Linked DNA regions of Homo sapiens: region 1 is linked to region 2. Evidence: promoter capture Hi-C in human tissues and cell types (Jung and others, 2019). All regions are on one chromosome and are shown on one strand. Each heading gives the region's core, a stretch centred on a gene start or on the middle of the fragment in contact. The rest is flanking DNA. Distances are from core to core; before and after follow the strand shown.

What was found. Contacts are between HindIII fragments. The study calls those that stand out against the background at their distance.
Region 1: a contact is called between a fragment that was not itself captured here and the fragment with the promoter of SLC10A5 in region 2, in 1 of the 25 tissues and cell types used here (aorta).

What each region holds. Positions count from the first base shown.
Region 1 is chr8:81,648,953-81,655,402 of GRCh38, reverse strand. No RefSeq gene overlaps it. Among named protein-coding and RNA genes, the nearest start is that of IMPA1, 34 kb to the left of the region's middle. The HindIII fragment of the contact is 7,970 bases long and covers 1-6,450 here.
Region 2 is chr8:81,693,311-81,700,409 of GRCh38, reverse strand. SLC10A5 (solute carrier family 10 member 5) reads left to right here and starts at 5,352. Exons shown (of 1, transcript NM_001010893.3): 1 at 5,352-6,779. The coding sequence starts at 5,438. The coding sequence ends at 6,754. The HindIII fragment of the contact is 3,072 bases long and covers 2,507-5,578 here.

The DNA.
Region 1 (6,450 bases), core at 1,317-3,816, 42 kb after region 2:
AACCTCGTCTCTACTAAAAATACAAAAATTAGCTGGGCGTGGTGGCGGGCGCCTGTAATCCCAGCTACTCGGGAGGCTGAGGCAGGAGAATCGCTTGAACTTGGGAGGTGGAGGTTGTAGTGAGCCGAGATCGAGCCACTGTACTCCAGCCTCGTCAATAAGAGTGAAACTCCATCTCAAAAAAAAACAAAAAAACAAAAAAAAAATCTCTTTGCTTTAGTTTCTAGGAGATTTCCATATCTTTATCTTCCAACCTATTAACTTTTAAAAAATCACTGTGTTCTGATTTCATTGACTAAATATGTTATCTTTCTATGATATTCTTTTATATATTTTAAAACATATTCTAGGTCCTGCATTGTCCCTTTCAAGTTCCTCAATTTTTAGTTGCTTTTTGTTCTTTGGTTGTATTTTTTATTTGTTCTCTTTCATTTTTTGGCATCCTCAACTATCTAATGGTCCTTTGTTTTATAAATGTACTAAAATGTATGAGATACTGGTAAAAGTACTGCTAATAGGGAAATCTATAACCTTAGCTGGAAATTAGGGAAATAGAGGGATTGACTGTTAGAAATAAAAATATTTCATAGTCTATGTGATTGTCCACTTAGAAAATCCAAAAGAATCTGCAGACAAACCATTAGAATTAGTGTCTTTAGTGATGTCACTAGAGATAAGGTCAGTGTACAGAAATTAACTGCATTTGTATAAGCTAGCAATACTTAAGATAGAATTTGGTGAAGATAGCATTTACAGTAATGTTTTTTAAAGCCATCAGATACCTAGAAATTGTTCTGACAAACATGTAAAAACTCCACACAGGAAAAACTACAAAGCCAAAATATTGCTGTGAAAAATATAAAAGATCATAGTAGATGGCATAATATACTATGTTTATGGTTTGGGACACTCAATATTGCCCAGATGGCAATCCTTCCCAAATTTATCTGCAGATTTAAGAAAATCTCAGTAATGCTTGGGGGAGGGAGTAAAGAGGGAGGACTGAAATGTATATGAAATATAGAGAGCCCAAAATAGCTAAAACCATTTTAAAGCAGAAGAGCAATGTTAGAAGACTAGACCACTAGATACCAAGACTTGTAGAGCTCTGTAATTAAAACAGTGATATTAGCACAAGGCTAGACAAATAGACCAGTGGGACAGAGCGTCCAGAAATAAACCCAAATGTATAGAACTATCTAGTTGATGAAAATGATGTCATTGCAATGTAGTAAGGAAATGATCGTCTTTTCAATAAGTGGTATGGAAGCAGTTGGATATCCATATTAAAGGAGAACATAGAATATTGGTCCCATCATGCCATGCACACAAATCAATTCCAGATGATCCTAGACCTAAAAATAAAAGGTGAAAGAAAGCTTCTAGAAGATAGCATATCTTCCTGTCCTTGGTAGGCAAAGACAGGGTACAAAAAACAGGATACAAAAAAGCACTGACCCTAAAGAAAGACTGACAAATTGGGCTGCATTAATAGGTTTGCATCAAAATACACCGTTAAGAGAGAAGGGCAACCCACAGAGTTTGCAATACATCTATCTGAGAAATTATAATGAGGCTATAAATAACTCCTATGTAGCAAAAAAAAAAGATCCAATTACAAAATAGGCAAATAATTTTACTACATACTCCACAAAATTATATATTCAAACAATAAAAAATAAAAGTGTTCAATGTTATTTGTCATCCCAAAAATGCAAATTAAAACAATCTTATACCACTACATACATCAGAATGGCTAAAGCAAATAATAAATCCAGTGAACACATAAACTAAATAACCCCCCAACATCATATGCTATTGCCGGGGATGTACATTGGTATAACTACTTTAGGAAACTCTGGTGGTATCTACTAAAGCTAATCATCTGTTTGTCATAGGATCCAGCAGCTTCATTCCTCTGCACCTATTCAGCATACATGCACACATATATCACCAAAAGGCACATACAGCTATGTTCGTAGTAGCATTCTGTTATATGAGCCCTAAACGGTAAACAATGCAAAAGTCTACCAGTAACAGATGGATTTTCTTTTTCTTTTTTTTTTTTTTTTTTGAGGTGGAGTCTCACTCTTGCCCAGGCTGGGGTGCAGTGGCTTGATCATGGCTCACTGCAACCTTGAATTCCTGGGTTCCAGCAATCCTCCCACCTCAGCCTCCTGAGTAGCTGGACCTACAGGCAGGTGCCACCATGCTCGGCTAATTTAAACAAATTTTTTTCTTTTTAGACATGGGGTGTTGCTGTGTTGCCCAGGCTGAATCTCAAATTCCTGGGCTCAAGGATCCTCCCCCCTTGGCCTCTCAAGTGCTGGATTACAAGCCTGCGCTACCGGGCTGGGCTGGTGGTTTCTCTTCTATCAAGTCACTGTAGGGAAACTCATGCATGCCCCATGACTTCAATCATCATATCCATTCTATTGACTCAATCTTGACCTACAGCCCATATTTTCTTTCTGAATTTCACCCCTTCCCTGCCACTGCCTCTGCTCTGCCCTGCTCCTTCCTGGATGCCCCCTTCTGACCATCCTCTACTTGATTTCAATATGTCTCAAATAAAACAAATGAATTTTTGCTCAGAATTTTCTGCTACTCAACTGTTTTCATTTTTCTCTGCCCTTTCAAGTTTAGCATTTGATATATTTGATGTTTCTCTTTCCCCAGTCCTCACATCCAATTTTTCATAGCCAAGTTTTTTTTTATCATTTGACCCCACCTAACATTCCCACTGAATACTCCTGCCAGACTGGACCAATAGCTCTTCACTGGCCTCCTCTGAACTTTTTCAGGTGATATTCCTTCTGCCCAGAACAGCTTACAGTAATAATAGGTTAATTTTTTTTATGAGTGTGAAGATAAAGTCACAGTGATTCTCCTTTCTCTGGGAATTGCTCCCAACAAATGGCTGTGCTTACTGTCACCATGTCTGTAGTTGGTGTGACTCTGTTCTCTGTTTACTTCAGAAGAGGATATCTGACTCAACAAGACAAGTGAAATTTGCTAGGGTATTGGAAATTTTGAACCCAAAGACAGATTGGAAATAATTGGAAATCACTTTAGGTCAGCACTGGATAAGAAGTAACATGTGTCTCAGGAGGCATCCTTCAGATTGAGCTGGGTGTCAGCATTCAATTCCACAAGGCTACCTGTTTAAGAAGAATGGAAATATTTCATAGGTAATATGTTCTAATTTCTAATATGTCATATGTAATATGTTCATTTCTTAGGTAGTTTCTTCCTCTAAATAGCTCTTAAAATATTTTCCTTGATAATGTTATTTATGATATTTAGCATTTGTTGAGTGCACTGTACCATGTGTTGTGTTAAGCACTAAATATTCATGATGATAATTAAACCTCACAATAACACCAGGAGAAGTTATTTTCATTGTACCAAAGCACATATTTAATTAGCCCAATTTCCCTGCTAAGGTGACACAGGTAAGTGGTGACACTCCTGCAGTGACACAGCGAGGGTGTGCAATCTTAACCCCCCTGCCCAGGGATCCTCCCCCTCAAGCTGCACATGGGAACCACCTGGGGAGGGTACAGACCGTCCACTGCTGGGGTCCCTCCTGAGTGGATCTGACTGACCAGGTTTGGAGGGTCGCCTGGCCATCTGTATATTTTTTTAAGTTTTCAGGTAACAATATCAGGCAGCCAGGATTGAGAATTATTTTGTTTTCCAAGAATAACTGATTTCTTAGAAGTAGCCAACTCACCTACTCACCCACCTCAACAAACCTCAGAGGGTCTTAGGGTATGACTTGATACCTTTACAAGGAAATGTTGCTGTGAGCCATGCCTTTGCCACCTGATGAGCCTGCTTGGAAATTATTATACCTGCCTTTTTTATTTCCACAAATTAACACTAGATGGCAAACTGCACACAGGGAATCATATTAAACATTTCCATTTCTGAAACACTTTATTTTTTCTTCAAATAACCTCATTAGCCAATATTTGAGTTTAGTAATATAGTATTAAAACCAAGAGAATTCTTCATAAATTGAATTACTCCAGGTCATGGGTTAACTAGCATTCCCTTCAGCAGAGCCGTAGGCACCCTGTATACACTATGGCTTGGATTTCAGTTGTCTTAAAGGTTCAGCTGTTAAAATATGTTTATTAATCATAAACATATAGAAAACAAAATACTTCCTTATCACACCTGAGAACACTTTTCCAACAATATATGTTAATATCCCTATTAAATAATTGACTCACTAATAAAAACGTTTACAAATACCTGCCTACCTTTCAGGGAGCTTTTCATATCTCTAGGGATACAAGGCAGGGGGTGCTTTGATACTACTATATGCCCACTTTCCTGTTCTTTTTCCTCAGAAACTGTTTGCTTGGATGATGAAGTAATGGAGGTGGGGTATGTGAGAAACAGTATGAGAGAAGTATACATTACTTACGTTGAGGAGCAGTGTAATAATATTGTCATTTATTTAGTCTCTCATAACTGGTAAAATACCTTCATATCCCTGACCTCGAAGTGGCAGCACTCATCCAGCTACCTCAGAGTTGACAACATCACTCATCAGACCTTACACATAAAGGTGAGGTGTGGGGGATTTGTTTTTTTTTTTTAATACTTTATGTATGTGTGTATGAATGAATGAATGAATGACAGTGTCTTGCTCTGTTGTTTAGAATGCAGTGGTGCCATCAGGCTCACTGTAACCTCGAATTCATAGACTCAGTTGACCTATTGACCTTCCCCGCTCAGTCTCCCAAATAGCTGGGACTACAGGCATGTGCCACGACACCTGGCTAATTTTTAAATTTTTTGTAGAGACTGGGTCTTGCTGTGTTCCCCAGGCTGATCTCAAACTCCTAGTCTCAAACAATCCTCCTGCCTCAGCCTGAAAAGTCCTGGGGTTACAGGCATGAGCCACCGTGCCTGGCCAGGTGTGAGGGATGTAGAGGTTCAAGTAATCTTTCTAAATGCAAATACATGATCACCAGCCTAATGGTTTCTCAGTTTTCTTGGGGTAAAGTCTAAATTCCTTAATTTGGATTAGAAGACCATTCACGATCTGGTCCCCTCTCCTTGCCGCTCAGCCTTTTCACCTCTAGCCTCACATACATAGAGGTCAGATTGGAGTTTTTTCAGCTTCTGCAGCATGCCTTCTTCTAGCTTATGAACCTTCACAACAAGCTGGCTCGTTTCACTTTATTTGGTTTTTAGTAATGCTCTCTCTTACCTTCCCCTTTGAACCTCATCTTAACTCAGGCTTAACCTACCTTTACATGTTTAATATCTATTTACATATTACCCACATATTTGGTTTTAGCTTTCTTTTAGCTTCCTCCAAGAATCCTTTGACCACCGAAGTGTGGATATATTTCTTCTCCTGAGTGCTCTGCATTTCTTCAGACGGCTTACCTGCTTTGTTATAACTGCCTCTTGTAGGGAAAGATGGCCCTCTGAACACCATGGAGGATGGAGGCGGTCCTTTACTCATTCTTGTATTCTCAACATCCAGTACAGTGCTTGGTTAATAACAAGCCCTCTATAAATATTTGTTGAATACTTGAGGTGTCAATACCTAACGACACCTCTCTTATGCCATCTTGTACTCAGGTTTGAGAGCCATAATATATGCATGCCTGCAAATAATAGATTGCCTAGAACCACCCCAATTGTCCCTTTCCCAGAAAAGCTAAAGACCAGCCCATCTAGTACTTGATTTGTTTTTGTTTTAAAGCCAAGCTATGAAGAACCCCAAAGTCTTGCAGATTCACTTCAGATTCAAAGGGACAGATGTGAGATATGAAAAATATAATAAAATTTCTGTCCGTTCTGCTACAAAATCAAAATGAATGTAACTTTACATGACCATGCAAAATTCAGGTATACTGAGAACTTCACCATATTGAGAACTTATCAGGGGTGTCCAATCTTTTGGCTTCCCTGAGCCACATTGGAAGAAGAATTGTCTTGGGCTACATATAACATACACTAACACTAATACTAATGATAGCTGATGAACTTAAACAAAAAAAGCAAAAAAGTCTTAATGTTTTAAGAAAGTTTACAAATTTGTGTTGGTCCACATTCAAAGCTATCCTGGACCACATGCAGCCTGTGGGTGTCAGGATAGACAAGCTTGCTTTAGATGATTTGGGCCCACTAAAAACAGACTTAGGTCTTCACAAAGAGCAATTGCCATAGTGGTGATGAACTCAGTCCCTTCCATTCCTGCTCTCTCTGCTTCCTCCCTCCATCACAATTCAAGCCCTGAGGGAGAATAAACTTTAAAGATATGATTAACTAGATTACATTCTTCCAACACCACATTATAGTTTGTAGATAAACCTCAGTGCTGCCAAGGCCCTGCAGTTTGTATGCCTTGCTATCATATTTACTAAGGGGTTCTTAAGTTTATGCTTGGTAGAAAGATAATGAGACTGAATAAAGTCC
Region 2 (7,099 bases), core at 4,103-6,602:
AAAGTAAATGCATGCTATTAGAAAAATGGCTCTGGTAGGTCGGGCGTGGTGGCTCACACCTGTAATCCCAGCACTTTGGGAGGCCGAGGCGGGTGGATCACTTGAGGTCAGGAGTTCGAGACCAGCCTGGCCAACATAGTGAAACCCTGTCTCTACTAAAAATACAAAAATTAGCTTGGTGTGGTCGTGGGCGCCTGTAATCCCAGCTACTGGGGAGGATGAGGCAGGAGAATCACTTGAGCCTGGGAGGTAGAGGTTGCAGTGAGCCGAGATCATGCCACTGCACTCCAGCCTGGTGACAAAGCAAAAAAGACTGCATTTGATTTAATCTGATGCAACACAAAATGGAGTGCCATAACATGTGCTATGTTTGCACTTACATACAAAGTAGTGTAGCGGATGCTAATTTAGTAGATAATCAGTATGCCTATGTTCCAATAACTCTTTTATCAGAAAGTATAACACTTAAATATATGCCCAGATACCAATAAATTTTAGTGACAACTAATACTGTAATGCTTAGCACAATTACTTGCACATACGAGAAGATCAGCACATGGTCATGCAGTTGACTAAAACTATGCCAGAAAAATAATGAGGTTGAGAAGTGGGGAAGTAAGGCTGACAGGAATTGAGTTAAACCTAAGGAGAATGAAGAAGTCCTATCAATGATTAGATAGAAAAGAGACAAGGCAGTCTGGATGGAAGGACTTATATTATTAATATTAGCAGGCTTACTGGTGGTAAGTTAGGTGTGGTCCCAGATAGTGGAGCAAACTAGTCTGGTGGAGACAGGAGCTAGCATCCTTAGTACTGGGGACTGGTGGCTGCAGCAGGAACTGTCTCCTAAAGAGAACAAGATGTGGGAGAAAGGGAAAAGACTCAGTTTCTAGCCTCTATTTCTAAATTACTCAGAAAGCAGACAACTTTCTCAGGCTTTCGATTAGGGTTTTCAGTTGAGGATGCTTAGAAAAATTTTAAAGATTCACTCTCCCCACTCCACTCTAGCATCTTTCCACCTGCTTGCAGACAAATTTCAAGTAGCAAATCCACAAAGAGAATAAAAGTGTTTTAAATTTACATAAGTAATGGAAATAACAATATAATAAAAATGAGTTCTAGTTTAAAAAATCAGGCAGCAAATGCTAGGGAACTTCAAAAAGTTCATGGAAAAACTGAAAGATAAAAATAGGCCAGGGCTGGGCACAGTGGCTCAAGGCTGTAATCCCAGCACTTTGGGAGACTGAGGTGGGTGGATCACTTGAGGTCAGGAGTTCAAGACCAGCCTGGCCAACATGGTGAAACCCATCTCTACTAAAAATACAAAAAACTAGCCAGGCATGGTGGTGCATGCCTGTAATCCCAGCTACCTGGGAGGCTGAGACAGGAGAATCACATGAACCCAGGAGGGGGAGGTTGCAGTGAACCAAGATTATACCATTGCACCCCAGCCTGGGTGACAGAGCAAGACTTCGTCTCAAAAAAAAAAAAAAAAAGGACAGGTGTGGTGGCTCACACCTGTAATCCTGATACTTTGGGAGGCCGAGGCAGCAGGATCACTGGAGCCCAGGAGGTCGAGGCTGCAGTGAGCCATGATCTTGCCACTATACTCCAGCCTGGGCAATAAAGCGAGACCCTGTCTCAAAAAAGAAAACAGATAAAAATATAAAACATAAACTTTATTTTTCAACATAAGCTCCATCAAGTTTAAGACACTTTCGTAAGCAATGACGCCAGCCACTTAGTCCATTGCAAAATAACTGATGGTCCTGGATATTTAATCATGTTAATGCAGTCTGTTTCTTAACTAAAGAAAAATGGGTGCCCTTTAAAGTTTTTTTTTTTTTTTAAAGATTAGGAAACAGGAAGTCAGAAGAAGCAAAATTAGACCTCCTAAGGTAGATGCCTAATGATTTACCATCAAAATTCAAAATTTTCCTTGTTTTATGAGAGGAATGAGCAGGAGCATTGTCTTAGTGGAGAAGCAATCTCTGGTGAAGCTTACCTGGGCATTTTTCTGCTAAAACTTTGGCTGTCTCTAAACATTCTCATATTTTTTTTTTCTTTTTGTAGAGATAGGTCTTGCTATGTTGCCCAGACTGGTCTTGAACTCCTGGCCTCAATGGATCCTCCTGCCTTGGCCACCAAAAGTGCTGAGACTACAGGCATAAGCCACTGTACCCAGCCTCATAACACCTTTATAATAAGCAGACGTTATTGTTCTTTGGCTCTCCAGAAAGTCAACAAGAAAAATGCTTTGAGCATCCCAAAAAATAGTTGCCATGACCTTGCTTTTGACTAGTCCACTTTTATTTTGACTGGACCACTTCCACCTCTTGGTAGCTATTGCTCTGTTTGTGCTTTGTTTTCGGGATTATTCTGGTAAAGCCATGTTTCATCTCCTGTTACAATTCTTGGAAGAAATCCTTCAGGATCTTGATCCCACTTGTTTAAAATTTTTATTGAAAGACAACTGAAATTTTAAGTAGAAAACCCACCAGGAGAACAAAAGTACTCTTGTCTGTAGCTGATCTGGGTGCAATAGTTTCGGTACCCATCAAGTGGAAAGTTTGCTCAAGTTTAATTTTTCTGTCAGCATTGTGTAAGCTGAACCAACTGAGACATCTATGATGTTGGATATTGTATTAGTCCATTCTCACACTGCTATAAAGAACTACATGAGGTCGGGCGTGGTGGCTCACACCTGTAATCCCAGCACTTTGGGAGGCCAAGACAGGTGGATCACCTGAGATCAGGAGTTCGAGACAAACCTGGCCAACATGGTGAAACCCCATATCTACTAAAAATACAAAAATTTGCTGGGCATGATGACAAACACCTGTAATCCCTGCTACTCACAAGGCTGAGGCAGGAGAATCACTTGAACCTGGGAGGCGGAGCTTGCAGTGAACCGAGAGAGCACCACTGCATTCCAGTCTGGGTGACAAGAGTGAAACTCTGTCCTCCCAAAAAAGAATTACCTGAGAGTGCGTACTGTATAAAGAAAAGAAGCTTGACTCAGTTCCACAGGCTCTACAGGAAGCATGGCTGGGAGGCTCAGGAAACTTAAAATCATGGGAGAAGGGGAAGAAAGCACATCTTCACATGGCCAGCAGGAGACAGCAAGTGAAGAGGGAGGTGCTACACACTTTCAAACAACCAGATCTTGTGAGAACTCTATCATGGGACAGCACTAGGGCGATGGTGCTAAACCATCAGAAGCCATGCACATGATCCAATCATCTCCCTCCATGTCCCTCCTCCAACACTTCCTGTCATTACACTTCTGCATGAGATTTGGGTGGGGACACACAGCCAAACCATATTAGATATTGTCTGTGCTTTTTTTCTTCACAAATTGCTGTGAATGGTCTGCTGCTACGGGCTTCATCTTCAACATTGTCTCATCTCTTAAAATGAGTTATCCATTTGTAAACTGCAGATCTCCTTGGGGTATTGTCTCCATAACCTTTATGTGAAGCATCAATGATTTCACCATTCTTCCACCCAAACCTCACCATAAATTTGATGTGTGTTCTTCCTTCAATTTTAGCAGAATTTATGTTTCTCTGATAAAAGAGCTCTTTTCTAAATGTCTTATCATAGTTAGTGTCCCTCACTAGATCCTGTTCAGACATGTTACAAAAAGTTTATTCTGGTGCAAAAAAAAAATTGAAATTCATACACACTTTTTTATAATACATATTTTCCATGAAAATTTAGAAGAACACTTATATAGATGAATGATAGATTATCAAAGTTTTCCTAGATTTGTCAGGCTTTGTTCTTCACGGTTTTCAAATGAAAGGGCCTGGAGAAACCGAAGAACTAAAAGGGTTGCAGAAAGAGTCCTAAGGGGAAAGAAAAACTGATATACTCACATCTTCGACCTAGGCAACAAAAGTTATGAGTCAAGATATTTGGTCACATAACTAAAGATAACTTAGGTTTTATGACATTTTTGTTTTTTGTTTTGTTTTTGTCAGTTAAAATAGGGAAATTTTAACTGAAATATCAATGAACAGTCCCATTCCCTATCCTCACCATTGGTACAGCGGATCTTGTTTTTCTTAATGTGGTACATATTAATAAAATTTATGAGACCTAAGGTCTACTGCATTTGAAAGATTAACCGACATAAATGGTATACTTTTATAAAACTCGTTAAAATGACAAAAAGGTTTCACATTTTTGAGGAACAAATGATCTAAAATACTTAATACAAATTGGCATTACCTTGAACACATTGCATCATGATTACATGAAAGAGCTGCTGAAATGGTCATGTGTTCAGAGACTACTACATCTGTAGGCTTAATAGTAAACGTTTGGTTGGTTGGTTGGTCGGCTGGTTGGTTTGCTGCTTAGCATCAGGACACCCACCCCTTGTGTGGGAAATATACAAGTGTGTGAGTCTATGGGTTGAAATCCAAAAAGCCTGATGCTTTTTCTCATTCCTGGCAACCAAGGGATATGACCAAATTGGGTCAATTGAATGCCCTTGCCCCTAACTGTGAACAGAGAGTAGTGTTACAAACAAGGAATAAAAGATTAGAATCAATGCCAGTGTCTTTCCATTGCCCCATCGTGTCAGGGTCCAAGTGTCCAGTAGCTGTGGTCCCTTAACCAGCCTGTACCTTTGGCCGTGGCACCAGCTACCTACTTTCCCTATGTCCCCAAGTTATCTGGTAACCATTCAGGAATTTTTTTTCCTACTTAGGTATACAAAAAACAGTGTCAGTTTTTGCTTGACAGATTAAATCATCCTTCAGAGATGCAGGAAAACTATTAGCAGCCAAGGGATGCTGCCAAGGCCAGTGTCTGGGCTCTGCAGTTTTCTAACTTGTGATATTGGGTCACCCCACTAAGCTCCAGGAGAGCAGCGACTGCATCTGGCTTAATCATTATGGGATGGCCAGCTCCCAATTCCATGCCCTAGGCAAAGAGACATTCAGTGAATATTGATTTGACTTCGACTTGATTGAACAAAATGGTAACACTGAACTCTAGGTTTCCTCAGTGTCTGTTACAGATTTCTTGATCCTGACTGCTTTTAATTTTTTTTTTTTTAGCAAGAAATAACTAACGAATGATGACACTAAGCTTTAAATTCAAGTAAATAGGAGGCTTTTTTTTTTCGCATAAGCAGAAATGAGGAAATCAAGAGGAAGAGATTAGATTTCTGTTGTGATAAATCGAATCTGTTAAATGCCATGACTTTTTAATTGTCTTAATCACAAGTTAAACCGGTTGTGTTGCTGCTTAGATGGCTATATATTTGTTTAAAAGTACAGCAGTCCCTCCTACTGGACTTTGATCCTACAAAAACAACTGTTATCTAACTCACCCTCAGACTGTCACTGGAACACCTGCATGAAGAATGTTCTTTCATTTTTTAAAAACGATTTTGCATATATGATTTATTTCAGCTTTCAAAATGATTAGAAAACTTTTTATTGTTCTACTTTTGTTGCTTGTGACTATAGAAGAAGCAAGGATGTCATCGCTCAGTTTTCTGAATATAGAGAAGACTGAAATACTATTTTTCACAAAGACTGAAGAAACCATCCTTGTAAGTTCAAGCTACGAAAATAAACGGCCTAATTCCAGCCACCTCTTTGTGAAAATAGAAGATCCTAAAATACTACAAATGGTGAATGTGGCCAAGAAGATCTCATCAGATGCTACAAACTTTACCATAAATCTGGTGACTGATGAAGAAGGAGAAACAAATGTGACTATTCAACTCTGGGATTCTGAAGGTAGGCAAGAAAGACTCATTGAAGAAATCAAGAATGTGAAAGTCAAAGTGCTCAAACAAAAAGACAGTCTACTCCAGGCACCAATGCATATTGATAGAAATATCCTAATGCTTATTTTACCACTAATACTATTGAATAAGTGTGCATTTGGTTGTAAGATTGAATTACAGCTGTTTCAAACAGTATGGAAGAGACCTTTGCCAGTAATTCTTGGGGCAGTTACACAGTTTTTTCTGATGCCATTTTGCGGGTTTCTTTTGTCTCAGATTGTGGCATTGCCTGAGGCGCAAGCTTTTGGAGTTGTAATGACCTGCACGTGCCCAGGAGGGGGTGGGGGCTATCTCTTTGCTCTGCTTCTAGATGGAGATTTCACATTGGCCATTTTGATGACTTGCACATCAACATTATTGGCTCTGATCATGATGCCTGTCAATTCTTATATATACAGTAGGATATTAGGGTTGTCAGGTACATTCCATATTCCTGTTTCTAAAATTGTGTCAACACTCCTTTTCATACTTGTGCCAGTATCAATTGGAATAGTCATCAAGCATAGAATACCTGAAAAAGCAAGCTTCTTAGAGAGAATAATTAGACCTCTGAGTTTTATTTTAATGTTCGTAGGAATTTATTTGACTTTCACAGTGGGATTAGTGTTCTTAAAAACAGATAATCTAGAGGTGATTCTGTTGGGTCTCTTAGTTCCTGCTTTGGGTTTGCTGTTTGGGTACTCCTTTGCTAAAGTTTGTACGCTGCCTCTTCCTGTTTGTAAAACTGTTGCTATTGAAAGTGGGATGTTAAATAGTTTCTTAGCTCTTGCCGTTATTCAGCTGTCTTTTCCACAGTCCAAGGCCAATTTAGCTTCTGTGGCTCCTTTTACAGTAGCCATGTGTTCTGGATGTGAAATGTTACTGATCATTCTAGTTTACAAGGCTAAGAAAAGATGTATCTTTTTCTTACAAGATAAAAGGAAAAGAAATTTCCTAATCTAACAATTAAAGCATTACTGAATTCCTACTCTGGGTAGGGCACTGTGGGAGAGTAAAAGAATAACTATAATGATACCTGCTCTTAAGCCACTTATAATGTAATTAAAAATCTGACATTGGGGGGTAGAGAATACATATATATATATACACACACACACACACACACACACACACATTCGTATATGCTAAGTACTCAATGAGTGGTGGAGATGATAATACAGAAGTTCAGAGGAAGGAGACAACTTTGCAACTGTGTTGGTTTGAGAATGTTTTATAGGCTATGATGTCAATATGATACTTTCAGTGGTCTCCTAAATGAGACAGAGCAATAGAAAACTTATTTAGTGA